Linked DNA regions of Homo sapiens: all the other regions are linked to region 5. Evidence: promoter capture Hi-C in 16 types of primary human blood cells and fetal thymus (Javierre and others, 2016). All regions are on one chromosome and are shown on one strand. Each heading gives the region's core, a stretch centred on a gene start or on the middle of the fragment in contact. The rest is flanking DNA. Distances are from core to core; before and after follow the strand shown. Region 1 overlaps TACC1 (transforming acidic coiled-coil containing protein 1). Region 2 holds the start of TM2D2 (TM2 domain containing 2). Region 3 overlaps ADAM9 (ADAM metallopeptidase domain 9). Region 4 has its middle 12 kb from the start of TACC1. Region 5 holds the start of MAK16 (MAK16 homolog).

Region 1 (2,709 bases), core at 38-2,537, 5.3 Mb after region 5:
TTTGTGAATTATATCTCAATAAAGTAGTTCTTAAAAAAAAACAAAACAAAATTTCAGGGCCCATCAAGTTATATATATATGAAATATATATTTTGGTAGATATGGGGTCTTGCTATGTTGCCCAGGCTGATCTTGAGCTCCAGGGCTCAAGTAAGTGATCCTCCCACCTCAGCCTCCCAAAATGCTGGGATTTCAGGTTTGAACCACCACTGTCATCCCCATAAATAAAGTTATTGGAATACAGCCATACTCATTCATTCATGTATTGTCTATGGCTGCTTTTGCTCTACAATAGCTGGGTTGAGTACTTGGAACAGAGACCAAATGTCTGGCAAAAGTCTAACATATTTACTATCTTGTACAGAAAAAAAATGTCAACCTACATCTATACTTATTACAATTTCAGTAAAAATACAGAGTTTAAGTAATTTGGGAAAATGGCTTTAAGAATGAAAAGGTGCAAGGTTATACCTGCTGAACAAATGAACTGTGGGCGTGAGGTGCCATTAGTCTAGGCCTGCATGTTCAGGGAAGGCCCAGGGGAGAGCCTGATGTGGCCTGGCTATTTGTCATATTTGCAAAGGGGAAGTGATGTAATTGGTCTGCAATGAACTTGATTTTCAATTGACTCAAAGATCTAAGGAGGAATAAAAATTATTTAAAAAGGAAATTAGGGAAGAATGGGGAGAATATTGGAATCATTTAATAGAAGTACAAACACATAGACTTTTAACTTTTGCCCATTAAATTTTTTTTAACATTTTATTTTCTTAAATTTTTTTTAAAAAAATAGTGATGGGGTTTCACTGTGTTGCCCAGGCTGGTCTCGAACTCCTGGGCTCAAGTGATCCTCCCACCTTGGCCTCCCAAAGTGTTGGGGTTACAGGCATGAGCCAGCCTCACCCAACCCATTAAATGTCTTTAATGTAACTTCGGGTGTATGAGAATTTGTAAGTTGACTGTGCAGATCTCTTAAAAGGTTGATATGGTGTATTTTTAGAATGTTTTAGACTGCACGTGTGTGTGTGTTTGTTTGTGTGTGTGTGTGTGTGCGTGCTATAGAAAACACAGCATGGAAACCTTGTTAAAATCAGAGGCTTTGATTTTTTATTCTAAAGCTTTGAGTTATATGTTTAATCAGATACTATGTGAAAAATTTTCATTAGGTACATATTGAAGTGTTCCATTCAAGTCTACAAGTATATCCTCCTAAGGATTTAGTTTAACATCCTTTCCCTGCTCCAACAAGGGAATGCTTTATTAGAGTTTCCTAGAAATAATGGGACTAATTAGGACCTTTCATATTACCTAGTCCAGCAGTCCAACCCATGTGGCTCCTTCAACAGCATCGCAGCCTAATGCTTTTAATTTAATTTTAAATTTTTAATGTTTTGCTGTGATTGCCTCTTCCACAGTTTGATTTTTTTGTACTGTATAATTCCATGTTAAGGTATTTAAAGCTTGAAAATCTTAGCATGATATAGCTACTTTGTTTTTTCATGTATTTTTAGCTCTGAAGTTGGAGATTCCAACCAGCTAATAAATGAGATCAGAGTCATGTGTTTTTTTGTTGTTGTTGCTCTATCACAATGTAAATGTGCCCCTAGGAAGCACCTGCTTCTATATGGTGCCTTACCCAAGGGAGTGTCTTCCTGGGGAAAAAAGTGTAGTTTTTCCAGCAGAAACTTGTGAGAGTGCAGAACCACAGAGGAGCAACAGTGTCTGAATAAAAAATTCCAGGGCAGGGAAGCAAAGTCTACCTGCAGAAAGGAAAGATTTTAGTAACTATCAAATCACAATTTTTCTTTTAAGATGAGTGACAAAATCAAGACCTTGCACTCCCCCATTTTGGGCTTACCCAAGCATCGAATAAAGCAGTAGAACTTACTTTGGTACTTGCGGGTGGCAGAGACACTTTCTACCTGTGTATGTGTTTTGGGAGCCGGCAGTCCTTCTAAAATTATATTGCTGCCATGTAATGTCCCACCTACAAAATGGATGTGGCCTAAAGCCATTTAAACATTTAAATGAAAGAGCAGTTGCAGTGTCTTTTTCAGGTTACCAGTTATACTGCCCAGAGGAAATCTTGGAGGGTATAAACCATTTTGTCACACTCTCCTAAATCCAGAGTAGCGATGGGAGATAATGGTTTATCCACCCAAAACAACCCTCTCAGTGGAGATTTCATAACCAAGGTTGCTAAATTGCCTGGTGACTATTAAATCTGGGCTTAGAAAGGCTTTGCTACTTGTGAGTTCAAGATCTCACCCTCACCTTTGCATGTACATGACCTAATTTTATGAGTTCAAACAAACATGATTAGATCCCCAGGGTTTAGATTGATGATGGCCAGACTCACAAGGGAATAATAATAATGGCATGGAGTATTTTATTAATTCACAAATGAAAAATGTATCTTGACAGTTTGGCAGATGCAGATACTCTCCTAGCCAGTCGAGGACCCTCTTTCTTATATCATAGCTGGAAATATGACAATAAATGATTGATCTCCAGCTTTCCCATTACAATATTCCCACCTAGCAGATCACCAGCTATCTGTTTCAGCCGTATTTATTTATTAGATGTGTTGGGAACAAGTAATCTTTGTTTGCAGCATCTTGTTTGATTTTTATGACCATGATTCTGCGAGATAGGACACAAGTGATTTCCATTTCACAGATTGGGAAATTGAGGCCAGAGCCTTTACTG
Region 2 (2,700 bases), core at 168-2,667, 5.5 Mb after region 5:
TTGGTCTTTGCACCTGGGTGGTTTTAGCACAGAGATTGCTCCTTCATAAGGAAACCAAATATCTTGTTCAGTCACTGACCCTGGCCATACTGGAAATTTCCAGTAACGGTCTTTCTGAGGAAATTCTTCAAAAAACTTTGTACCTCTTATACTTTTATGTAATAGCATTCAGACATTCCTATTTCGTTATCGAAGGGTTTGCTCTTACGACAAAACAAAAACTCACCTTGAGACAACCATAACCAAGTTCCTGGGATGCAGTTGCATTTCCAACATGATCCACTGGGTCTTCACATTCTATAAATTCATCAGGTCTGTAATTCACCAGTAAGATCATGATCATCATCATACGGTCTTTGCAAATCGCTGTTTGCATGCACGTAATCAAAACGGGCAAAAGACATTTCTTCATCAAGTTTTCTGGGGTTCGGTTTCACCCTGCTGACCCCTTTCCAAGCCAATTAAACTGAAGCACAGCAGGTCAAACGGACAGCCACCAAAATGAACCTTTTGTTGGAGAAGGGAGGTGTTTCTGGTCCTGTTTCTATAAGGATTCTACTTCTGCCATGGTTTCATCTCTTCAGTAGGCAAACAACAAGATTCTGGGGGCAAAATTTAAGCCAAAGTATTCTCAGTCCTCTTTGCATTTCCCAAATGCCTTTTCTTGTTTGATCAAAAAGAGATGTTAAAAAATGGCGTGATTCTGCAACGGTAAGAATATTGATTGCTTTTTTAAAAGATGCCTTGTAGGCAGAGACAAGTCATTTACTCCATTTATGCCTTACTCAGTACTGGCACCGAATCGACCGACTAATACTCTCCTTGGGCTAAAGGGCGCAGGGCAAAGAAAGCACAACCTTACGCCCTTCTTCCAGAGGCTATATGATGTTACTCCTACCCAGTTTTCCTCTTTGGGGATCTCAAAGCCTCTGTCACTGACACACAAGAGTTTTCTCTGCACGGGCTGTGAGAAACCTGGTTCATGATATTTGCCTCCGGAACGACCTCAGAGAGGCAGGGTCTGAAAAAATGCAGCGTCCCCCCAACCCTGCCTTCCCTTAACACCCATATATTCCTGGCACACCCTCCACGTCCACCCGCCTCGACCACTGGTAGCTTACAGGTAAGAGCAGAGGATGACCGGAGAGTGGGGGTCGCCATATTCCCAGCTCGCAGCACCCCCGGGGCCCTCCGGCTGGGCGGCGCCAGCGGATGTGAGCTCAGGCTCAGCGGTCGCATTTTGCGAGTGGCTCCGAGACACACAATGCAGCAGAAGTAAATTCCCCAGCAGCAAAGCCGCCTGGCCGCACAGAAGTAAGTAACTAACCGGGCAACCACCTAGCACCATCTTCCCGGGCACAGGAGCGGAGACCCGGCCTCAACCACAACCCCAGGCCAGCAGCACAGACCCAAGAACTGCGTGGTCAGGCCTTTCCGCGTAGCCCCGCCCGCGTAGCCCCGCCAAACAGCCAATGGACGCGCAGCTCGACGCTCCGCGCACCTCCGCCAACCAACTAGAAAAGGTCGAGCAGACGGGCGGGGCTACTCCGCCCTCTGCTTCTGCTTCTCGATTCCTCTTCTGGGTCTCATGCTCCTCCTTCTTTTGCGCCGAATGCGTTCTCCAATCGGATCCGTCGACCCCCCTAGGTGGGCGTGCCCGGCAGCCGACGGGGCGGGGCGGATATGACTGGCGGGCCGACTAGTGCTGGTTGCCACCGCCGGTTTAGAAATCCTATTCTCGCGCCGGGGACTGGATTTTTCCCTACGTCAGCGCAGCTAGGCGATGTCGGGAGCGAGCTCGGACCGAGGGCTCAGTTGCGTCAGTGCCGCGCGCGTGCTCGTCGGGCGCGCGTGCTCGTCGGGCGCGCGCGCTTCCCGGCCAGACTTGGGGCCCCGGCAGGGTTGGAAAATGATGGAAGAGGCGGAGGTGGAGGCGACCGAGTGCTGAGAGGAACCTGCGGAATCGGCCGAGATGGGGTCTGGCGCGCGCTTTCCCTCGGGGACCCTTCGTGTCCGGTGGTTGCTGTTGCTTGGCCTGGTGGGCCCAGTCCTCGGTGCGGCGCGGCCAGGTGGGTGTCCGCGCCCCGGGTCGGTTGGGACGGCTGCTTCCTAGGGACGGGGCGCTCGGAGTGAACCTGTGGTGCCTGGGAGTGGAGGGGCCCGGCCTGGGGATCGGACCCGGGGTCGGGGGGCGCGGCCGCTCCAGGTGTGTGCGGACCGGGGTCGCACCCGAGGCGCGGGGTTTGGCGCCCCAAGCCCTTCTTGGCCCGGGTCCTCTGCCCGGCACCGCTTCCTCCGTGTCCTGTTCGATGGAGCCGTTCCCAGCGTCCCCCCATCCCTCGCCGCCTCGCGCGACCCCGGGTCCCCCAGACGCCCCGAAACCCGCTCTGGGGCGGGCGCTGACCTCGGCGGGCCGGAGCCCTGCAGGCTGGGCGCGCCCGCGGGCGTTCAGTCCTCCAAACGCCTGCAGGGAGGGAGCTGGCTCTCGCTCGTGGAGTTAATGTCGCTTGGAAAGAGACTGAGAGATGAAACTTTTGCTGCAGGTTATAATTTGAAATTTTGACGTTCATGGTATCCTTGGGTCAACACAGCTAAATTTAATGGTGGAATAAAGGTGGGTGGGAGGACGCTCATTTCTCTTGGGTCATTTTTGTAGTAAGAATATTTTGTAAACGATGTGCTACCTTTCTATAGCCAAAC
Region 3 (2,700 bases), core at 61-2,560, 5.6 Mb after region 5:
AGATGATATCTCATTGTGGTTTTAATATGCATTCTCTGATTTTCAATGATGTTGAGCATTTTTTCCTGTGTTTGGCAGCTGCTTGTATTTCTTCTTCTGAGGAATGGATTTTATTGAATCTGCAGATCACTTTGGGTAATATGGACAATTTACCAATTTTAATTATTCCAATCCATGAACATAGGATGTCTTTCCATTTATTTGTATCATCTTTTATTTCTTTTAGCAATGTTTTGTAAGTTTTTAGTGTGTGATCTTTTTCCTCACTTGTTAAGCTTATTCACAAATGTTTTGTTTTCAATGCTATTGTAAATAGCTTTGTTTCCTTAATTTCCTTTTTGTAGTTCATTGTTAGTATGTGAAAATGACCTTATTTTTGTGTGTCAGTTTTGTTTCCTGCAACTTTACTGAATTTATTTATTAGTTATAACAAGTTTTTTGATGGACTCTTTGGGATTTTCTATATGTATGATCATGTCATCTTAAAAGAGGGACAGTTTTGCTTCATTTCCGATTTAGATGCCTTTTAGTTTTTCTTGCTAATTGTTCTGGCTAGGACTTCCAATACTAAGTTGAATAGAAGTGGCGAGATTGGGCATCCTTGCTTCATTTCTGATCTCAGAGGAAAAGCTTTTTGTTTTTCACAACTAGGTATGATTTTAGCTATGGGAATTTCATATATGGCCTAATTATGTTGAAGTTATTTTCCTTTATTTCTAGTTTGTTGAGAGCTTTTTGCATGAAAGGGTGTAGAATTTTATCAAGTGCTTTTTCTGTATCTATTGAGATGATCATGCTATTTTTATCCTTCATTTTGTTAATGTGGTATATCTCATTATTTAATTAATTAAATTTTTTTTTTTTTGAGACAGGGTCTTACTGTTGCCCAGGCTGGACTGCAGTGCTGTGAACACAGCTCACTGCAGCTTTGACCTAATGGGCCCAAGTGATCCTCGTGCCTCAGCCTCTTGAGTAGTCGGGACTACAGGCATATGCCACCATGCCTCACACATTTTTGTATGTTTTGTAGAGAAGGGGTTTTGCTACATTGCCTAGACTGGTCTCGAACTCCTGGACTCAAGCAGTCTGCCTGCGTAAGACGCCCAGAGTGCTGGGATTACAGGTGTGCACCACTGCACCTGATCTCATTAATTGATTTTTGTATATTGAGCCTTAATTGATTTTTGTATATTGAGCCATCCCAATTTATACCCAAGGATAAATTCTACTAGGTCATGTTGTATTTTACTTTTAATGTGCTGCTGAATTTGGTTTGCTAGTATTTTGTTGAGGATTTTGCATCTGTATTTGTTTGGCACATTGGCCTGTAGTTTTCTATATTTGGCATATTGGCCTTGGTGATACAGTCTGCATCAGGATAATGCTGGCCTCATAAAATGAGTGGAATTTTCTCCTCCTCCTCTATTTTTTGGGTGAATTTTTAGAATGATTGGCATTAGTTCTTTAAATGTTTGGTAGATTTCACCAGTAAAGCCATTGGTCCTGTGCTTTTCTTTGCTAGGAGGTTTTTGATTACTGATTCATATCCTTACTACTTATAGGTCTGTTCAGACTTATTTCTTTATGATTCAGTCTTGGTGGGATGTGTGTTTCTAGGAATTTATCCGTTTCTTTTAGGTGATCCAGTTTGTTGATGTGTAAATGTTTATAGTAGTCTTTTATAATTCTTTTTATTTATGGCATCAGTTGAAATGTCTCCTTTCTCATTTCTGATTTTGAGTCTTCTCTTTCTTTTTCTTAGTGTAGCTAAGATTGGTTAATATTGCTTATCTTTTGAAAAATACTAACTCTTGGTTTTGCTGATTTTTCAATTCTTTTTCTAGTCTCAATTTTGTTTATTTCTGATCTGAAGTTCATTATTTCCCTTATGATAATTTTGGGTTTAAATTTTCTGTTGCTTTTCAGATTTCTTGGGTTGTAAAGTTAGGTTGTTTATTTGAGTTTTTTTTTTTAATATAGGTTATCACAGCAAGCTTTCCTTGTATTTTTTTTTTTTGACAGAGTCTCACTGTGTTGTCCAGGCTGGAGTGTAGTGGGGCAATCTTGGCTCATTGCAACCTCCACCTCCTGGTTTCTAGTGATTCTTGTGCCTCAGCCTCCTCAGTAGCTAGGATTACAGGCGCGCACCACCATGCCTAGCTAATTTTTGTATTTTTAGTAGAGATGGGGTTTCGCCATGTTGGCCAGGCTGGTCTCGATCTCCTGATCTCAGGTGATCTACCCGCCTTGGTCTGGGATTACAGGCGTGAGCCACCACATCTGTCCTCCTTTTAGTATTATTTTTGTTTTATTTCATAAGTTTTTACATATTGTGTTTTTTGTTTGTCCAAAAGTATTTTTTAATCTTGTGTTTGATTTCCTTTTTGACCCAATGGTTGTTCCACAGTGTGTTGTTTAATTTCCACATATTGGTGAATTTTCCATTTTCCTTTCTGCTTTTATTGTTGTCTTTTTCTATTCTAATTGCTAGTTTCATCCATTTTGGTCAGAAAATATATTTGGTATGATTTCAGTCTTCTTAAATTTCTGAAGACCTGTTTTGTGACCTAAAATGTGAGCCTGGAGAGAGTTCCATGTGTGCCTGAGAATAGTATGTATTCTGCCACTGTTGGGTAGAATGTTCTGTATATGTCTATTAGTTTGATTTGGTCTGTAGTGTTGTTCAAGTCCTGTGTTTCC
Region 4 (2,729 bases), core at 121-2,620, 5.3 Mb after region 5:
CTTATATTTCATACATGACAATTTATATATTACATATTTATTTGTTGGCTTACTAAGCTCACTAATATGCAAGTTCTATGAGGGCAGGAACTGGGTCTCTTTTGTTCAACACAGTGTTCAGCAGAGGCTGGCAAAGCTTGGTCATTTGTCAAATTTGTGGAATGAATGAATGAATGAATGAATGAATGAACATATGTATTATTTTGCCTTAAACACTAAAGGTATTTAAAAATACATTTTTTATTATTGTTTTGAGACAGAGTCTCACTCTATAGCCCAGGCTGAAGTGCAGTGGTAGCATCACAGCTCACTGCAACCTTGAATTCCTGGGCTCAAATGATCCTCCCATCTTGGCCTCCCAAGTAGCTAGGACTACAGGTGTGCATTGCCACACCAGGCTAATTTTTTTTTGTTTTTGTTTTTGAAGGGATGGGGTCTCACTATGTTGCCTAGGCTATAAAAATATTTTTAAAGGCCAGCCACGGTGGCTCACGCCTGTAATCCCAGCACTTTGGGAGGCCGAGGCGGGCGGATCACGAGGTCAGGAGTTCGAGACCAGCCTGTCCAACATGGTGAAACCCCCTCTCTACTAAAAATACAAAAATTAGCTGGGCATGGTGGCACATGCATGTAATCCCAGCTACTCGGGAGGCTGAAGCAGGAGAATCGCTTGAACCCCAGAGGCAGAGGTTGCAGTGAGCGAAGATCGCACCACTGCACTCCAGCCTGGGTGACACGGTGAGACTCCGTCTCAAAAAAAAAAAAAAAAAAATGAAAACCAAAAACTTTTAAAACAAAGTACAAGACTATTTGTATGTATTTGCTTTATAAAACAATTTACAGTGCCTTTTAAAATGAGGTGAATTTTGGGGAGAAGTCATATCTCTATTATACATACCAAGTGGGCATATCTTTTGGGGCTGGGGGGAAACTCCAGAATTCATACCTTCATACCTTCCTTGCAAGGGTTATGAATCCTAGTTGTGCACTTTGGTGCCTGAGTAAACCTTCTTCCAAAAAGAATGATATTCGACCCAGTGATCTTTGGCAAAGGTCCTTTCCAGCTAAAAATTTCTGTGGTTCTATGAGATCTGAGATGGATGCTTAGGTTAGGAGTCAGTGATTATCTTAGTCTGTTAAGGCTACTATAAGGATATAATTGCCTGGGTGGTTTATAAACCAGTCATTTATTTCTGGAAGTTCTGGAGGATGGAGGTCCCCATGATTAAGGGACCAGCAGATTCCACATCTGGTGAAGGCTGACCTCCTGGATGTCTTCTCCCTGTGTCCTCATTTGGCAGAAGAAGGGAGAGGGAGCTGTCTGGGGTCTCTTTTATAAGGGCGCTGACCCCAGGAAGAACCCTCATGACCTAATCACCTCCCAAAGGCCCCACTTCTTAATATTCTCACATTGGAGTTTAGGTTTTAACCTATGAATTTTGGGGGGATATAAACAGTCAGTCTGTAGCAGTGATTTATCATTTGTTCAGAAAATAATGTAAAACAAATATATTCTGCTCAGTGTCTATGCCTTGGCCAAAGGAAACAGAAAACACATAAGATATTCCTATATCATACATGATGAGGTACAGGGAAGACCGGTAAGGATAAACTCGCTCTTGCTTGTCATAGTTCTATAAAATAATACAACAAAATAACTTGACTAATTGAGCCCATAAGAAAACAATTTCTAAAAATATTTTGTGTGTGTGCTAGAAATCGTCACTAGCACCAGTTAGTGTTGAAGCCAAAGAACAATGATTAATTCACTTATAGGATTTGGGTCAGTTATTATTTATTATTGTTATTATTTATCCTTAGAATTGGGCAAATATTGGAGTTATACAATCATATTATTTCAAGGAAATCTCCCCAAAGAAAATAATAACCTTCATCAATATGTAAATCCATTCTACTTGGCCTTTGTGAAATCTAAATATTGACTCCCTCCTTCTTCAACGTTTTTGTCCACATCAGTCATCTTTAAAAATGCAACTGCCTAATTTCTAGAAAGTCAGTATCACAGCTCAAGTCATTACGGCAGAAGGAAGGGTAGTCTCAGTCCTGTTTTTAGGATAATTAGGACATCATCCACGGGGCAGGCTTGAGTCTTTTGGTTCGGGAATTTTCTGCCCTGAGAAAAGACATCATTGAGATACAGGTAGAGTGTTCCTTATCCAAAATGCTTAGGACCAGAAGTGTTTCAGATTTTAGATTTTGGAATATTTGCATATACATAATGAGATAGCTTGGGGATGGGACCCAAGTCTAAACATGAGATTCATTATGTTTCATATACACCTTCTACACATAGCCTGAAGGTAATTTTAAACAGCAGTTGTAATAATTTTGTGCATGAAACAAAGTTTTGACTGTGTTTTGACTGTGACTGGCCACATGAAATTAGGTGTGGAATTTTCCACTGTGGTGTCATGTTGACAAGCAAAACGTTTTGGATTTTAGATTGTTGGATTAGGGATGCTCAACCTGTGTAGATTTATCATTTTTAAAAATGCTTCCATCTTTGAAGGAACTTTCATGTAATCCTGTTCAGAAGAATGTAGAACGAAATTTAAGGCAGGTTCTTCCCATACCTTCATCTAAGGAAGCTTAGATGCTGAAATCCCCCAGAGGAGGTTGTAATGTGAGGGTGGAGATGAGGCTGCTGTTACAAAGGGGCCCAGTGACACAGTCTGATAAAGAAGATAGACTTTTAGGCTGGGCACGGT
Region 5 (2,700 bases), core at 13-2,512:
CAACATCCTTATGACCTGTATTTTGTGCTGACCTCATCCTGTGATTTAGATGGCCTGACCCTCGGGAATGCAGCCTAGCAGATCTCAGCCTTATTTTACCCAGCCACTATTCAAGATGGGGTTGCTCTGGTTCAAATGCCTCTTGACAGTCTTTCTTTCCTTTTCTTTTTTCTTTTTCTTTTTTTTTTTTTGAGAGGTAGTTTTGGTTGTCACCCAGGCTGGAGGGCCACAGCATGATCTCGGCTCACTGCAACCTCCGCCTCCCGGGTTCAAGCGATTCTCCTGCCTCAGCCTCCCAAGTAGCTGGGATTACAGGCACCTGCTACCACGCCCGACTAATTTTTGTATTTTTAGTAGAGACGGGATTTCACTATGTTGGCCAGGCTGGTCTGGAACTCGCCCGCCTAGGCCGCCCAAAGTGCTGAGGTACAGGCGAGAGCCACCGCGCCCGGCCCGGCCGACAGTCTTTCTTCTATAATACGATACAAACTAGTAAAGATTTTCTTTTTCCCCTGGCGGAAAAGAGCTGTTAGGCTTCCAGATTTGTTTTTGTGGGTTATTAGACCTCTACTTTTCTTCTTGGTATTTTCCCTCCCTTATCAACTTTGTTTGTTGTCTCAAATAGGCAATGAGGAAGACACAGGTGTTTATTATTATTGGAATGCTCTTTCCATTTGGTCAGTGGTTTCTCAAAGCAGGAGGAATTCAAGTTCTGAGTTTCTAAAGTCAGGACCCGGTGCCGCACCCAACGTGGGCGTGGGGAGTGGCTAAGTCAGGGTCTGAGGGGCAGGGCCGGGGCCTGGCTGCGAGCTGGGGCCGGGGGACTCGGAGGAGCGGGGACCCAGCCCCGCCGCGCCGCCTGCAGCTTTCCCCAGCCTCCTCCCAGCAGAGGGGAGGCCCGACAGGGAGGGGTCCCATCCTCATGAACGGTCACAAACAGGGCGCTAGGGAAGCACGCCCGACCCCCGCGGTCCCCGCGCTCCAGGATTCGGCAGACTGCGCGCGTCCTGCCTCCCGCGGATCGCACTGGGTCCCAACAGGGTTCCCAGCTCCAGGCTGCGCCCATGAACAAGCCCAGCATTGCGGACGGGCGCGCGCAGACGCCAGCGTGGTGAAGACGCGGGGGCGCGCGCGCGGCGACGAGACTGCCAGGGGACGCTTCGCAACACCGAGAGTCTCAGCGTTTCTCGAGATAGGTGAGGCTGCGCGTTCCGGAACTGGTTTCCCGGAAGGAGCATGTCTGCGCCCGCGATCCGACCGGAAGTTGCACGCTGAGCCGCGGACACCATGCAGTCGGATGATGTGAGTCTCCTCCGGTTGTTCTTACACCCGGGGTTTGCGCAGGGAATTTTGCCCATTTTCGGACACTTAGAAAACGCGTACGCAGCGGGTCTGTTGCCTCGTGCCGCTCTGGATGTGAGGCTTCCGGAACCCCGATTTTCCAACATAGGTTCTCACGCGTGTCTAGCAGGGGTTTACTGCCCGCTGCCCCGGCCGGGTTGTGAGCACAGGACTCCGTCACCTCAGCCCATGGGGTCGATGTGTCCCGTCCTTCGTGCCTACCAATGCAGGACGTCGCGTCATGCTGTCAGCTGTCAGCTGTCAGCTCCGGACTTGGGGTGGGGGGCGGCCCGGGATTTGGCGAAGCTGACTCCAAGTTTAAGCGTCCTTCTCATCCATGTGCGCGTTACTCTTCCATCTGCGTTTCCTGTGTAGGCTTTTCTTTACATTTGCTCTACTTCTGCCTAAGTCATAATTTCGGAAGTATCCTAGATTCATTCATTGAGTTTTTTGTTGGAGAAATAACAGTGTGCTTACAGTGTGCCAGGCATTGTGGTAATTATTGAGGATTTGGTTAACCAGAAAAAATGTCCCACCTCTCCTGGAACACTGATGGGGGAGACACAGTAAACAAGTGAACAAATAAGTTAACAATTACACTATATAATCATACTATGAAAGAAAGACCAGAGATGATGAAGGACACTTCAGATAGGGTTACTCAGGGAAGGTTTCTCTGAACAGAAGATGTTTGAGTTGAGATCTAAAAGATAAGAATAAGCCAGTCACTGAGGAGCTGAGGAAAAAGCAATCCAGGCAGTAGGAACAGTAAAGTACAAAGAGTTGAAGATATGAGAGAATGAATATAAGGGTCATCAAAGTGACAATGTAAGACAGGTAATGAAATTAGATATGCTTGCCAGGGCGAGGTCATGCAGAATCTTGTAGGAAGTGTTTTTTAGGCCTTTTAATGATCTATGTTTGTGAAAAGTTGTCTAGTTGCTGTGTGAAGGACTTTTGGAGGGAAAAAATGAAAGCAAGGAGACTAGGGTATGACAAAGGTTGCTTCAAGCCAGACACAGTGGCTCATGCCTGTAATCCCAACGCTTTGGGAGGCTGGGGCTGGAGGATCGCTTGAGGCCAGGAGTTCGATTCCAGCCTAGGCAATAAAGTGAGACTCCATCTCTACAAAAAATAAAAAATTAGCTGGGCGCGGTGGTGTTCGCCTGAGGTCCCAGTTACTTCGAAGGCTGAGGCAGAAGGACTACTTGAGCCGAAAAGTCCGAGGCTGCAGTGAGCTATGATGGCACCACTGCACTCCAGCCTGGGTGACAGAGAGACCCTATCTCTAAAGTAAATAAATTTTTTTAAAAACGAAAGTGGCTTCGCCTAAGGTAGTAATTTAATGGTGGAGATGAA

What was found. The method cuts DNA at HindIII sites, captures the fragments that hold promoters and counts their contacts. A CHiCAGO score of 5 or more calls a contact.
Region 1: a fragment that was not itself captured here is called in contact with the fragment with the promoter of MAK16 in region 5 in 1 of 17 cell types (total CD4 T cells); the score reaches 6.2 in total CD4 T cells.
Region 2: a contact is called between the fragment with the promoter of TM2D2 here and the fragment with the promoter of MAK16 in region 5, in 3 of 17 cell types (monocytes, total CD8 T cells and non-activated CD4 T cells). The highest score is 6.0, in monocytes.
Region 3: a fragment that was not itself captured here is called in contact with the fragment with the promoter of MAK16 in region 5 in 1 of 17 cell types (M0 macrophages); the score reaches 6.6 in M0 macrophages.
Region 4: a fragment that was not itself captured here is called in contact with the fragment with the promoter of MAK16 in region 5 in 1 of 17 cell types (naive CD8 T cells); the score reaches 6.2 in naive CD8 T cells.

Annotation. Positions count from the first base shown.
Region 1 is chr8:38,793,529-38,796,237 of GRCh38, forward strand. The region is part of intron 2 of TACC1 (transforming acidic coiled-coil containing protein 1); the gene reads left to right. Among named protein-coding and RNA genes, the nearest start is that of TACC1, 7.6 kb to the left of the region's middle. RefSeq lists an enhancer at 443-737. The HindIII fragment of the contact is 342 bases long and covers 1,117-1,458 here.
Region 2 is chr8:38,995,092-38,997,791 of GRCh38, forward strand. It overlaps TM2D2 (TM2 domain containing 2), which reads right to left and starts at 1,418. Exons shown (of 4, transcript NM_078473.3): 1 at 1,122-1,418; 2 at 227-314. The coding sequence starts at 1,348. ADAM9 (ADAM metallopeptidase domain 9) reads left to right here and starts at 1,882. Exons shown (of 22, transcript NM_003816.3): 1 at 1,882-2,069. The coding sequence starts at 1,973. RefSeq lists enhancers at 546-1,068, 1,069-1,590, 1,199-1,388, 1,549-1,648, 1,709-1,758 and 1 more and a silencer at 2,089-2,518. The HindIII fragment of the contact is 5,467 bases long and covers 1-2,700 here.
Region 3 is chr8:39,045,924-39,048,623 of GRCh38, forward strand. The region is part of intron 12 of ADAM9 (ADAM metallopeptidase domain 9); the gene reads left to right. Among named protein-coding and RNA genes, the nearest start is that of SNORD38D, 29 kb to the left of the region's middle. The HindIII fragment of the contact is 1,364 bases long and covers 629-1,992 here.
Region 4 is chr8:38,774,258-38,776,986 of GRCh38, forward strand. It overlaps a transcript of TACC1 not described here. Among named protein-coding and RNA genes, the nearest start is that of TACC1, 12 kb to the right of the region's middle. The HindIII fragment of the contact is 2,473 bases long and covers 135-2,607 here.
Region 5 is chr8:33,483,920-33,486,619 of GRCh38, forward strand. It overlaps MAK16 (MAK16 homolog), which reads left to right and starts at 1,263. Exons shown (of 10, transcript NM_032509.4): 1 at 1,263-1,302. The coding sequence starts at 1,288. RefSeq lists enhancers at 419-1,055, 1,043-1,192 and silencers at 683-872, 1,083-1,270. The HindIII fragment of the contact is 3,746 bases long and covers 1-2,700 here.